4 separate regions of the Homo sapiens genome follow, and all the other regions are linked to region 1. The links are contacts of gene promoters, found by promoter capture Hi-C in blood cells and fetal thymus (Javierre and others, 2016). All regions are on one chromosome and are shown on one strand. The core of a region is centred on a gene start or on the middle of the fragment in contact, and the rest is flanking DNA. Distances in the headings are between cores, read along the strand shown. Region 1 holds the start of SPP2 (secreted phosphoprotein 2). Region 2 has its middle 64 kb from the start of ARL4C. Region 3 has its middle 48 kb from the start of ARL4C. Region 4 has its middle 14 kb from the start of ARL4C.

The links. Contacts are between HindIII fragments. The CHiCAGO score rates a contact against its expected background, and 5 or more counts as called.
Region 2: a contact is called between a fragment that was not itself captured here and the fragment with the promoter of SPP2 in region 1, in 1 of 17 cell types (total CD4 T cells). The highest score is 5.2, in total CD4 T cells.
Region 3: a fragment that was not itself captured here is called in contact with the fragment with the promoter of SPP2 in region 1 in 6 of 17 cell types (non-activated CD4 T cells, total CD8 T cells, naive CD4 T cells and 3 more); the score reaches 11.0 in non-activated CD4 T cells.
Region 4: a contact is called between a fragment that was not itself captured here and the fragment with the promoter of SPP2 in region 1, in 9 of 17 cell types (total CD4 T cells, non-activated CD4 T cells, total CD8 T cells and 6 more). The highest score is 15.0, in total CD4 T cells.

Annotation. Positions count from the first base shown.
Region 1 is chr2:234,049,420-234,052,002 of GRCh38, forward strand. It overlaps SPP2 (secreted phosphoprotein 2), which reads left to right and starts at 1,283. Exons shown (of 8, transcript NM_006944.3): 1 at 1,283-1,452; 2 at 1,552-1,676. The coding sequence starts at 1,368. The HindIII fragment of the contact is 10,293 bases long and covers 1-2,583 here.
Region 2 is chr2:234,560,249-234,562,831 of GRCh38, forward strand. No RefSeq gene overlaps it. Among named protein-coding and RNA genes, the nearest start is that of ARL4C, 64 kb to the left of the region's middle. RefSeq lists an enhancer at 2,485-2,583. The HindIII fragment of the contact is 6,746 bases long and covers 1-2,583 here.
Region 3 is chr2:234,543,895-234,546,477 of GRCh38, forward strand. No RefSeq gene overlaps it. Among named protein-coding and RNA genes, the nearest start is that of ARL4C, 48 kb to the left of the region's middle. The HindIII fragment of the contact is 7,918 bases long and covers 1-2,583 here.
Region 4 is chr2:234,509,680-234,512,262 of GRCh38, forward strand. No RefSeq gene overlaps it. Among named protein-coding and RNA genes, the nearest start is that of ARL4C, 14 kb to the left of the region's middle. The HindIII fragment of the contact is 3,740 bases long and covers 1-2,583 here.

The DNA of each region.
Region 1 (2,583 bases), core at 33-2,532:
TTCACAATAGCAAAGACTTGGAACCAACCCAAATACCTGTCAATGATAGACTGGATAAAGAAAATGTGGCACATATACACCATGGAATACTAAGCAGCCATAAAAAGGGATGAGTTCATGTCCTTTGTAGGGACGTGGATGAAGCTGGAAACCATCAATCTCAGCAAACTAACACAAGAACAGAAAACCAAACACCACATGTTCTCACTCATAAGTGGGAGTTGAACAATGAGAACAAATGGACACAGGGAGAGGAACATCACACACCGGGGCCTGTTGGGGGGTGGGGGGCTGGGGGAGGGATAGTATTAGGAGAAATACCTAATGTAGATGATGGGTTGATGGGTGCAGCAAACAACCATGGCACATGTATACCTATGTAACAAACCTGAAGGTTCTGCACATGTGCCCCAGAACTTAAAGTATATATTTAAAAAATCTCTCTTTTTCTTTCCCTCTATATTTTGGTTCTCCTTTCTGGAGAACCCTGACTAAGAACACACCTGACCTCTAACCATTTATGCCTATTTTATAGATGAGAAAATTGAGGTTCAGAGGTGTTGAGTGCCATGCCCAAGGGGATACTCCTGGTACATGGTAGAGCCAAGATCTCAGTCCAGGTCTTTCTGAGACAAAACACAGCTTCTTATGCGTGAAATCCACAAATAAGAACACAATGACCTACATACAACACAAACTGTACTTCCAATTAAGTAGTTCTCCTTTTTAATCATTCAAAAACTACCTTGGGATCTTACAGTGCATGGGAATCATCAATATGTAAATACCTTATTATCCAGGTGATGTGCAAAAGTGTCCAGTAGCACAGAAGATTGGTTAATAGGATGGTGTGTCCCAGCTTTTTACTGCACTTGTACTTGCTTCGAATATTTAGGACCCCTATATAAAATTATCTTCTCCAAAGTCATAATTTCCAAGAAGATCTTATACCCACACTATTTTCATAAGTAGTCAACTGCAAGATCTTTAGAACCATGAGGGGATCTCAATACACAACAATTTAAGATTAACCATTTTGTTGAATGTAAGATTATATCCCCTCCAAAGAATGAAATTAAAATAGAGAAAAATAAACAGCACACGTGGAATCCTGAGCCTCTTGATGCCTTTTGCCTTGGGCTAAAGTTCTCTTGTGAGTTGTAAACTTCAAAAGTGTCCTCAAACTGGAACCTTTCCATAGGAAAAGTCAGCAGAAAATATTGACCCCAGGATCAATTGTTTCTGTTTAAGTTACAGATTGCTGCAGTCAAAATAAGCAGCCAGTGTTTGATAAAGACAGCTCCTCTTAGGAAGAACTGTCATCCCCAAACACATAGAGAGACACTCTCTGTCTCTCGATTACAATCATGATTTCCAGAATGGAGAAGATGACGATGATGATGAAGATATTGATTATGTTTGCTCTTGGAATGAACTACTGGTCTTGCTCAGGTAAGGTATTCACCAACCTGGCCACCTGCTCTGGATCATGCAGAGCCATGCTGGCGCCTGTGTCTTGTCTCACTGTGCCCCATGTGCTTGCGTGTCCAGGTTTCCCAGTGTACGACTACGATCCATCCTCCTTAAGGGATGCCCTCAGTGCCTCTGTGGTAAAAGTGAATTCCCAGTCACTGAGTCCGTATCTGTTTCGGGCATTCAGAAGCTCATTAAAAAGAGTAAGTGCAAAATGAAATCTTCTCTACTCCTCCTTCCAATGCTGTCTGCCTTTTGTCAGTTCATTGGATATACTTTTAAGAAATTTTCTCCAGTTTAAAAATGATAGTAGCTAGTCATCTCTTTCATACTGTCTCTTTTCTTTGACAGAGAAAGATTTAATTACAATTTTTTGTCATGAGGCTATCCAAACCACTTTTGATGACTGATTCTTCTGCTGTATTCTCCTCTCTAACCTTGTCTTCTGGTTCCCTGCAGCCTGCTTTTGTACTTGAAGTCCTCGCGATTCTTTCTGAGGTGTTTTATTACGAACTTCTCATTTATTGGAAATGAGCCTCCTTTCAAATTCAGCAGTTCTGCTCCTAATACTTACTGGAAATAATCTGGCTTTTGAGTCAAAGAAATTCACCTTTCCTTGTCAATTTGGTAATAGTCTGTTTCCTCTTAGCTTTGGGAGCTAAAGAAAGAGTAATCACTTGGGCTTCCAATGACTAAGTCTGTGATATGCAAGGAAAGAAATGTAAAAATATCCTTCAAAGGAAATGAGAAACATAAGCAGCAAGTCATCTCCCTTCTTCCTGTTCCCCAGGTAATTTCACTGCCTTATTATCATCTGCATGGGGCTCATTTGGAGGTAGGGATGAACATATTTTCAAGCAAATTTAGGTTAAGGTGGGAGGTAGAGAGGTTCTATAAAGTTGCACATCTTAGGAATGAAGGCTCTGTATAGCCAGGCAGCATGGGAATGAGAATGAAGACACGGCTGAAGGTCCAGGCAGCAGAGGCCAGATGGACATTGCTTTCTCTCTGTCTGCCTGCTGCCTTCTCCCATCCCTCCTGGACTGACTCTTAGCTTGTTCCCTCTGCTACTCTGTAGAGCACATGGCTCATGATTTCCTAGTTCTAGTC
Region 2 (2,583 bases), core at 22-2,521, 510 kb after region 1:
TGCTGCAGTTGTCCAGGGAAAGAGGTATTCATGGGCCTGAACTAAGTCAGTGATGGTGGAGAGAGAGAAGGGAGCCAGTCGAGTTCTAGGAGAGCTGAAAACATTGGCCGCTGATCACATGAGAAGGCAGAGGGACCCATTTCTGCTGTGGATACTGGACATCCACTGAAGTGTGAAATGCAGAGCTTAGTGAGGAAGAGGAAGCACTGGAGGGATGTCCCTGCGTGCTTCCCAATGTATACACCCCAAACCCAGGCCCTTCATCACTTGTATGGGGAAGCGATGAAGGGCCTGGGTTTGGGGTGTGTACACTGGGAGGCACCTAGGGGCATCCCTTGGACAATGGCATGGTGTCTGCAGCTCAGAACAGCTTGGACTGTTGAGAGTCATAGGACACGGGAGAACAGCAACGCCAGGGGTAACGGTGAGATTGCCCAGGGCGGTGGGCAAGAAGTCCGAGGAAGAGGAGCCTCCAGAGGACTTTAGGGGGCACTGGTGGGAGAGAGAGGAAGGAAAGAGACCTCCAAATTCCAGTCAACATGGGGGAGTCAGAGTTAAACAAACCTGTAAATCGTTAAGTGGATAGAAGCACAGAGAGGAGGGCCGAGACTGGAGCTCTCCCACAACGGGAGCCCGGAAGGGCAGATGCAGGGGCCGTTACTTCAGCTCTGACCGGGTGGGATCCAATGGCCCCAGGGAGGCTGCAGGGCAAGGTTGGACACCCTTCATGAGACCAAGGGCTATGGTTATATTCTCTCACTCGTGAAAGAAACTCAAATTCTCTGCCCCCCTGGGATGGCAGCCAGAATGTAGCTGCGGGTCTGTGATGAAGGAAAAGGCAGACAAACAACAGCGGATCGGGATCTTGGCATTTGGAACTGCTTACCAGTTCCAGGATCGAAGCTGCCATGAACTCTTGGGGTGAGAACCCTGAACTGCTAATAACGCTCTTCCTCTGAGTCTTGGTCTCTTGGAGATCTGACTGAGGATACCTGAAATTATCAAACAGGAAAAGGTGATGCCTGCAGGAGAGAAAATACGGCTCCTATGCCAAACGAGCCCATAAATGAGCGTTATAAAGAATCTCCCAAAATCAGATGCCCCAGAAGAAAGACACGAAGTTAACAAATTGGAGAATACACACCTGGAAAAAAATAGAAAAATAGTGAAAACTGAAAAGGACTTTAATAGTGTGTGTTTAAAATCCTCAGAAAGTTTTAAAAAAAGTGACAGCAACTGTAAATAAGAACAGGGAGTTATGAAACAAAAACATAGCACTCAGGAATCAAGATCAATATGGATCCATTGATCAATGATCAATAAAGATCAATTTCAAAATCTGGAAAAAAAAGGTAGTTTTGAAATCAAAGCCCGCCGCAATGAGGTAAACAATAAGCTGGAAAAAAGTTGATGAGCGACTTTGTAAGACAGAATTGCAGAAATCAATCAAAATGCAGCACAGAGAGATAAAGAGAGAGAGAAATATGAAAGAGAAGTAAAGCGATGTGGAGAAGATACTGAAAAGCTCCGTACATATGAAACAGAATAGAATCAGTAGGGTCATGGCTAATTATTTCCAGAAGGGAAGGAAAATAAGAGCTCCTCAGACTAAAAGAACAAGTCGAGGGCCAAGTAAGATAAACACACAAACAAAATTCCATATTTAGATGTATCAGAGTGAAACTACAGATCAGAGATGATAAATACAATTTCAAACTACCAGAAAGAAAACACATTTTAGCCTAGGGAATGGCTATCTGTTCGAGAGCATCTTCATCAGCAAAAAAGAGGCCAGAAAACAATGGAGCAAAATGTTGAGGGAAAACATCTAACAATGCAATATTCTCTGCTCAACTCAAACGTCTTTTAAGAGTTACGGTGGCCCCTCTCCCCTCTCCCCTCTCCCCTCTCCCCTCTCCCCTCTCCCCTCTCCACGGTCTCCTTCCATGGTCTCCCCCTGATGCCGAGCCGAAGCTGGACTGTACTGCTGCGATCTCGGCTCACTGCAACCTCCCTGCCTGATTCTCCTGCCTCAGCCTGCCGAGTGCCTGCGATTGCAGGCGCGCGCCGCCACGCCTGACTGGTTTTCGTATTTTTTTGGTGGAGACGGGGTTTCGCTGTGTTGGCCGGGCTGGTCTCCAGCTCCTAACCGCGAGTGATGCACCAGCCTCGGCCTCCCGAGGTGCCGGGATTGCAGACGGAGTCTCGTTCACTCAGTGCTCAATGGCGCCCAGGCTGGAGTGCAGTGGCGTGATCTCGGCTCGCTACAACCTCCACCTCCCAGCCGCCTGCCTTGGCCTCCCAAAGAGCCGAGATTGCAGCCTCTGCCGGTCCGCCACCCCGTCTGGGAAGTGAGGAGCGTCTCTGCCTGGCCGCCCATCGTCTGGGATATGAGGAGCCCCTCTGCCTGGCTGCCCAGTCTGGAAAGTGAGGAGCGTCTCTGCCCGGCCGCCATCCCATCTAGGAAGCGAGGAGCGCCTCTTCCCCGCCGCCATCCCATCTAGGAAGTGAGGAGCGTCTCTGCCCGGCCGCCCATCGTCTGAGAGGTGGGGAGCACCTCTGCCCCGCCGCCCTGTCTGGGAT
Region 3 (2,583 bases), core at 49-2,548, 490 kb after region 1:
CACCCTACATCTTCATGCCTTTTAGGCTGTTCCTTACCTCCTTGCCTCTATTTATTCACCAGTCCTCAGACACAGATGACAATCTTATTCAACAGGCATTTGCTGAGCACTGTGTGCCAGGGAGCGTTCTCGATGCTGTAGGCCCATTGGTGAGCAGAGACTGCGCACCTGTGAGGTTTCTGTTCTTGTGAGGGTGATGGATGACAGACAAAGGAGGCCTGCAGAAGAGTCTATTCTTGCAGCTTGGACTAAGTCATCAAGCTGTGCTGACCAGGGTCAGCCACAGAGGGCCAGGAGGATGACCTTGGAGAGGGTGGAAGGAGCAGGAATGTGAGGAGTCAGGGAGGTGTGTCTGGGGCAGAGGGCATGGCACGCAGGAAGGCAGGGAAGGATGGGCCCGCAGGGTTCAGGAACAGCAGCGGGGTGCAGACCAGAGAGTGCCCGGAAAGCACGAGGAATTTGCTTGAAACGTAATGGAAGCCCCTTTCCTCTGTTTGCTCACCCTCACCTTCCTGGAAGGTGCTAACCTACTTTTTAAAACTCCAATGAGATGGACCTCACGTGATCACGGCAAGAGGGCAGCCACACCCTCGCAGGGAGCTCCTGGAGATCGAGGTAAATGCCTTACTTATGGTGGTGCCCAGTGTCTAGCAAGGTGTGGGGCCATCAACACATTTGTGGAGCTAGCCAGAAGTGAATGAATGAGGGAAGGAAGGAAGGAAGGAAGGAAGGAAGGAAGGAAGGAAGGAAGGAAGGGAAGGAGAGAGGGAGAGAGGGAGGAAGGAAGGAAGGAAGGAAGGAAGGAAGGAAGGAAGGAAGGGAAGGGAAGGAGAGAGGGAGAGAGGGAGGAAGGAAGGAAGGAAGCAAGGAAGGGAGGGAAGGAAGGAGAGAGGGAGGGAGGAAGGAAGGAAGGAAGGGAGCAAGGAAGGAAGGAGGGAAGGAAGGAAGCAAGGAAGGAAAGGAAAGGAAAGGAGGGAGGGAAGGAGGGAGGGAGGGAGGGAGAGAGGAAGGAAGGACTACCTCCACACTTCCTAGCTGTTCAGTAGAATTTGGCTCTCTAGATACGGCTTTTTTGGTCTGGAATGCTGAATCAGTAGCCAAAGTCATCAAAGACCGTCTCTTTCTCAAGGATCCCCAGTGTGGAAGCGGGACCCACCCAGCAAACCCATGCAGCATCAGGCAGCGCAGGGTTTTCATCCCGCTAGGAGCCTGCCCCCTGGTGGTGAAGAGAAGAAACGCAGAGCGAGAACCAGAGCCGGGCCGGGATGTCCCTGGGGCGGATGTCAGGGTTCACCTGGGGCTGCTTTGCCCCTGCGTGCAGCACCGCCCAGTAGGGCTGCTTACCTGTCCCACCCGTGCGCGCCCGCGGGTTCTAAACTCATTTTAACACTTGGTTAAGCAAAAACCAATTTGAGAAAATAAATGAGCTTGTAGGGTGTTTGAAAGCTAAATGGATTGATTTTGGATTGAGAACTACAGTGCTCTCAGGTTTTATATGGCACAGGATTACACACACCCAGGAGGAGCTGTGTGGTAATTATGACTAGAATCAGAAATTGCACCGTAAAAAGCTCATCTGAATAGATCCGGATTTACCGACACGGAAGACGGTCAGTTTCCCGGGAGGCCGGAAGACTGGGTATAGAATGAGCTTTCCTGGTGATCTCTAACAAACAAAAGGTGTCTGTGCTCTTGCAAGTGAAGGAAAACATTCTGAAGGGGGATGGTGAGCTCTGTTTTAAGTCATAACATTGAAGTACTTTGGGGTTATTTTTTGAGTGTCTGTATTTTCTGACTTCTCTATATTGTATTTCTGCAGCTCTCTCCCAGTTTTCTTTAGGGAAGCCCTAACTTAGACTCTCATGAATCCCCCAAAAAGGCAAGTTGAAAAAAATAACTTTTCTTTTTTGACATTTGAGGCATTCAAATGTCACACAGAGTCTCACTCTGTCGCCCAGGCTGGCGTGCAGTGGCACGATTTCAGCTCACTGCAACCTCCACCCCCCGGGTTCAAGTGATTCTCCTGCCTCAGCCTCCTGAGTAGCTGGGACTACAGGTACCTGCCACCACACCCGGCTTATTTTGTATTTTTAGTAGAGATGGGGTTTTATCATGTTGGCCAGGCTGGTCTCGAACTCCTGACCTCAAATGATCCACCCACCTCGGCCTCCCAAAGTGCTAGGATTACAGGTGTGAGCCACCGTGCCTGGATGAAAAAAAAAAAATAAGTTTTTTAATCCAGAAGAGATGGTATCTCCTCATGGTTTCATTTAGTTTTAAAAGACCCTTCTCACTTCCATCCCTCCCTCCTCACATACAAACCTAAAATTCTTGGATCCCTGAGGATAAAAACATAGTGGCGGACTCACATCTACCTGTATAATATTCAGGCAGCTTTTCCCAATTATTAGCTGTTCTCCACAGGATGAATGGAAGGTTTCTTTTTCTCCCTACTTCAATTCTAGTTAAATAAGTGAGATGCAAGGAGGAGGAAGAATTATAACGAGTCTGTACCGTGATATTATTTCATTACAGGCTGTAAAAAAATCCTCATTATTAGTCAGTTATATCATATTAGTGATC
Region 4 (2,583 bases), core at 38-2,537, 460 kb after region 1:
CTCAGCTGTCTCAACTCTCTCTCTCCTCATCTCTCTCTCCCTGTCTCTCTCTGTCTCCCTCTCTCTTTCGCTGTCTCTTTTAGATTTGTGTGGCCCTCTAGCTATTGTCCTACAGTTTTACTCCTTCCCTTCTCAGAGGGTCTCTGCTTCTCTCACAATGCAACTTTCTGTCTGCTCATATCTGTCATGCCCTTCCCCACTCTCTGAACCTGTGCTGGCAAAGGTCACCTCCTAATTGCTGCACAAACTGGACCTATTTTAGTCCTAATCATACTTATTGCCTCAGTTGCATCTGGTGCTGTTAACCACATTCTTTTTTCACAAAACTCTCTCTGACTTGCCTTTCTTTGGCTTTCATTGTAGTCCTTGCTCCTAGCTCTCTTGTATATTTTGAGGTTCTCTCACAAAGTCCTTTTCTTCCATTTAACCCTGAACTGTGAGTGTTTTCTGAGCCCTCTGCTTGGCTCTTGTTCCACACCACACCTGCCTTCAAGGGACAGTTTTTTTGCTCCAGTGAATTCTTCTCCTCCTCCACAAGGAGGAGGTTTTTGTTGTGAGAAAATACACATAACATAAAATTTACCATCTTAACCAGTTTTAAATGTACAGTTCAGTGGTATTAAATATATTCAGAATATTGAGCAAACATCACCACCATTCACCCTCATAACTCTTTTCATCTTGTAAAACTGAAACTACCCATTAATAATAATGTTTCATTATTTCCCCCTCCTCTCAGCCCCTGGAAATCACCATTCTACTTTCTGTCTTTATGATTTTGACTACACTAAGTACCTCATATAAATGGAATCATACAGTGTTTGTCTTTTTTCGACTGGCTTATTCCACTTCGCATAATGTCCTCAAATCTCATCCATGTTGTAGCATGTGTCAGAATATCTTCCCTTTTTAAAGCTAAATAATTTCCCGTTTTACATATGTGCCACATTTTGTTTACTCATTCATCTGTCAACAGATACTTGAGTTGCTTTCACCTTTTGGCAATTGTGAATAATGTTGCTATGAACATGAGTGTACAGATATCCCTTCAAAACCCTGCTTCCAATTCTTTTGGGTATATATCTGGAAATGAGATTGCTCAGTCATGTTGTATTTTTGTGTTTAAGTTTTGTAGGAACTGCCATGCTGTTTTCCATACCAGCTGCACCATTACAATCCCACCAGAAGTGCACAAATTTCCAATTTCTCTGCATGATCACCAGTATTTGTTATGTTCTTTTTTTTTTTTTTTTTTTGAGACGGAGTCTCACTGTCACCCAGGCTGGAGTGCAGTGGCGCAATCTTGGCTCACTGCAAGCTCTGCCTCCCGGGTTCACATCATTCTCCTGCCTCAGCCTCCTGAGTAGCTGGGACTACAGGCACCCGCTACCATGCCCGGCTAATTTTTTGTATTTTTAGTAGAGACGGGGTTTCACTGTGTTAGCCAGGATGGTCTCAATCTCCTGACCTTGTGATCCACCAATCTCGGCCTCCCAAAGTGCTGGGGTTACAGGCATGAGCCACCACACCTGGCCTGTCCTTTTTTTTTTTTTTTTTTTAATTCTAGCCATCCTGATGAGTGTGAGATGGTGTCTCGTTGTGGTTTTGATTTGCATTTCACTAGTGGTCAGTGATGTTGAACATCTCTTCATGCACTCATTGGCCATTTGGATGTTTTCTTTGGAGAAATCTCTATTCAAGTCCCTTGTCCCTTTTTAAACTTGGTTGTTTTTGGTGTTGTTGTTGAGTTTCCAGTGGATTCTTCTTCCCAGATATTTGCTTCTACTGTGCCTTGAACTATGTCCAAATCCCTGTTCAGTTTCCACTGGGTTGTCCCATGGACACCCCTAGACCATTCCAACTAATCTCACCATTGCCCCTACTGAGTCACTCTTCCTCCCCCATTCCTCTTCTTACCTCCTTCACTACCATTGACTCATTCTCACAGCCAGAACCCAGCAGAGAAGTGGGAGGCTGGTGAAGCCCTGCCACACGCCTTTTGATAGAATATCTAAGGACACAGCCTCCAGCTTTAGGAGAGAATAAGCCCATTTCTCTGCATTTGGTTGGGAATGAGCTTGATGGTCTCATCTGGGCCCATAGGTGGTGGGAGCCCTGCTGCCTCTTGGGCCAAGGAGACCACTCAGTAACTTTCCATGTCCTCTCCCCCCAGACAGCATCAAGGATGTCTGGCTGAGGTGAAGGATTCAGCCAGGTATGGCTGGACACTATGGGACCTTGGCCTTTAAGGTGGGTGTGGTAAGGGGAGTTTGGAGAAAATCCTGGCCCATCAGAAGTCCCCACTTTCTACCTACAATACCTGTAATAATAACTTCAATAAATAATAAAGTTAATAATAACTTTAACCCACAATACCTATAATAATAACTTCAATTTAAGGGTGCTATAGAATGACTAATTGTAATGTAATTTGAATGTGAACATTACAAAATTGGAAGTTAGTTGTTAACTAGAACATCACAGTTTATGGTAATGCACAAAATCAACTCCAAGTTGCCTAAATGATGGTAGAGAAGAATATTTCCAAAATATAAAACCTAGGTAGGGGACAAAGATGGAACC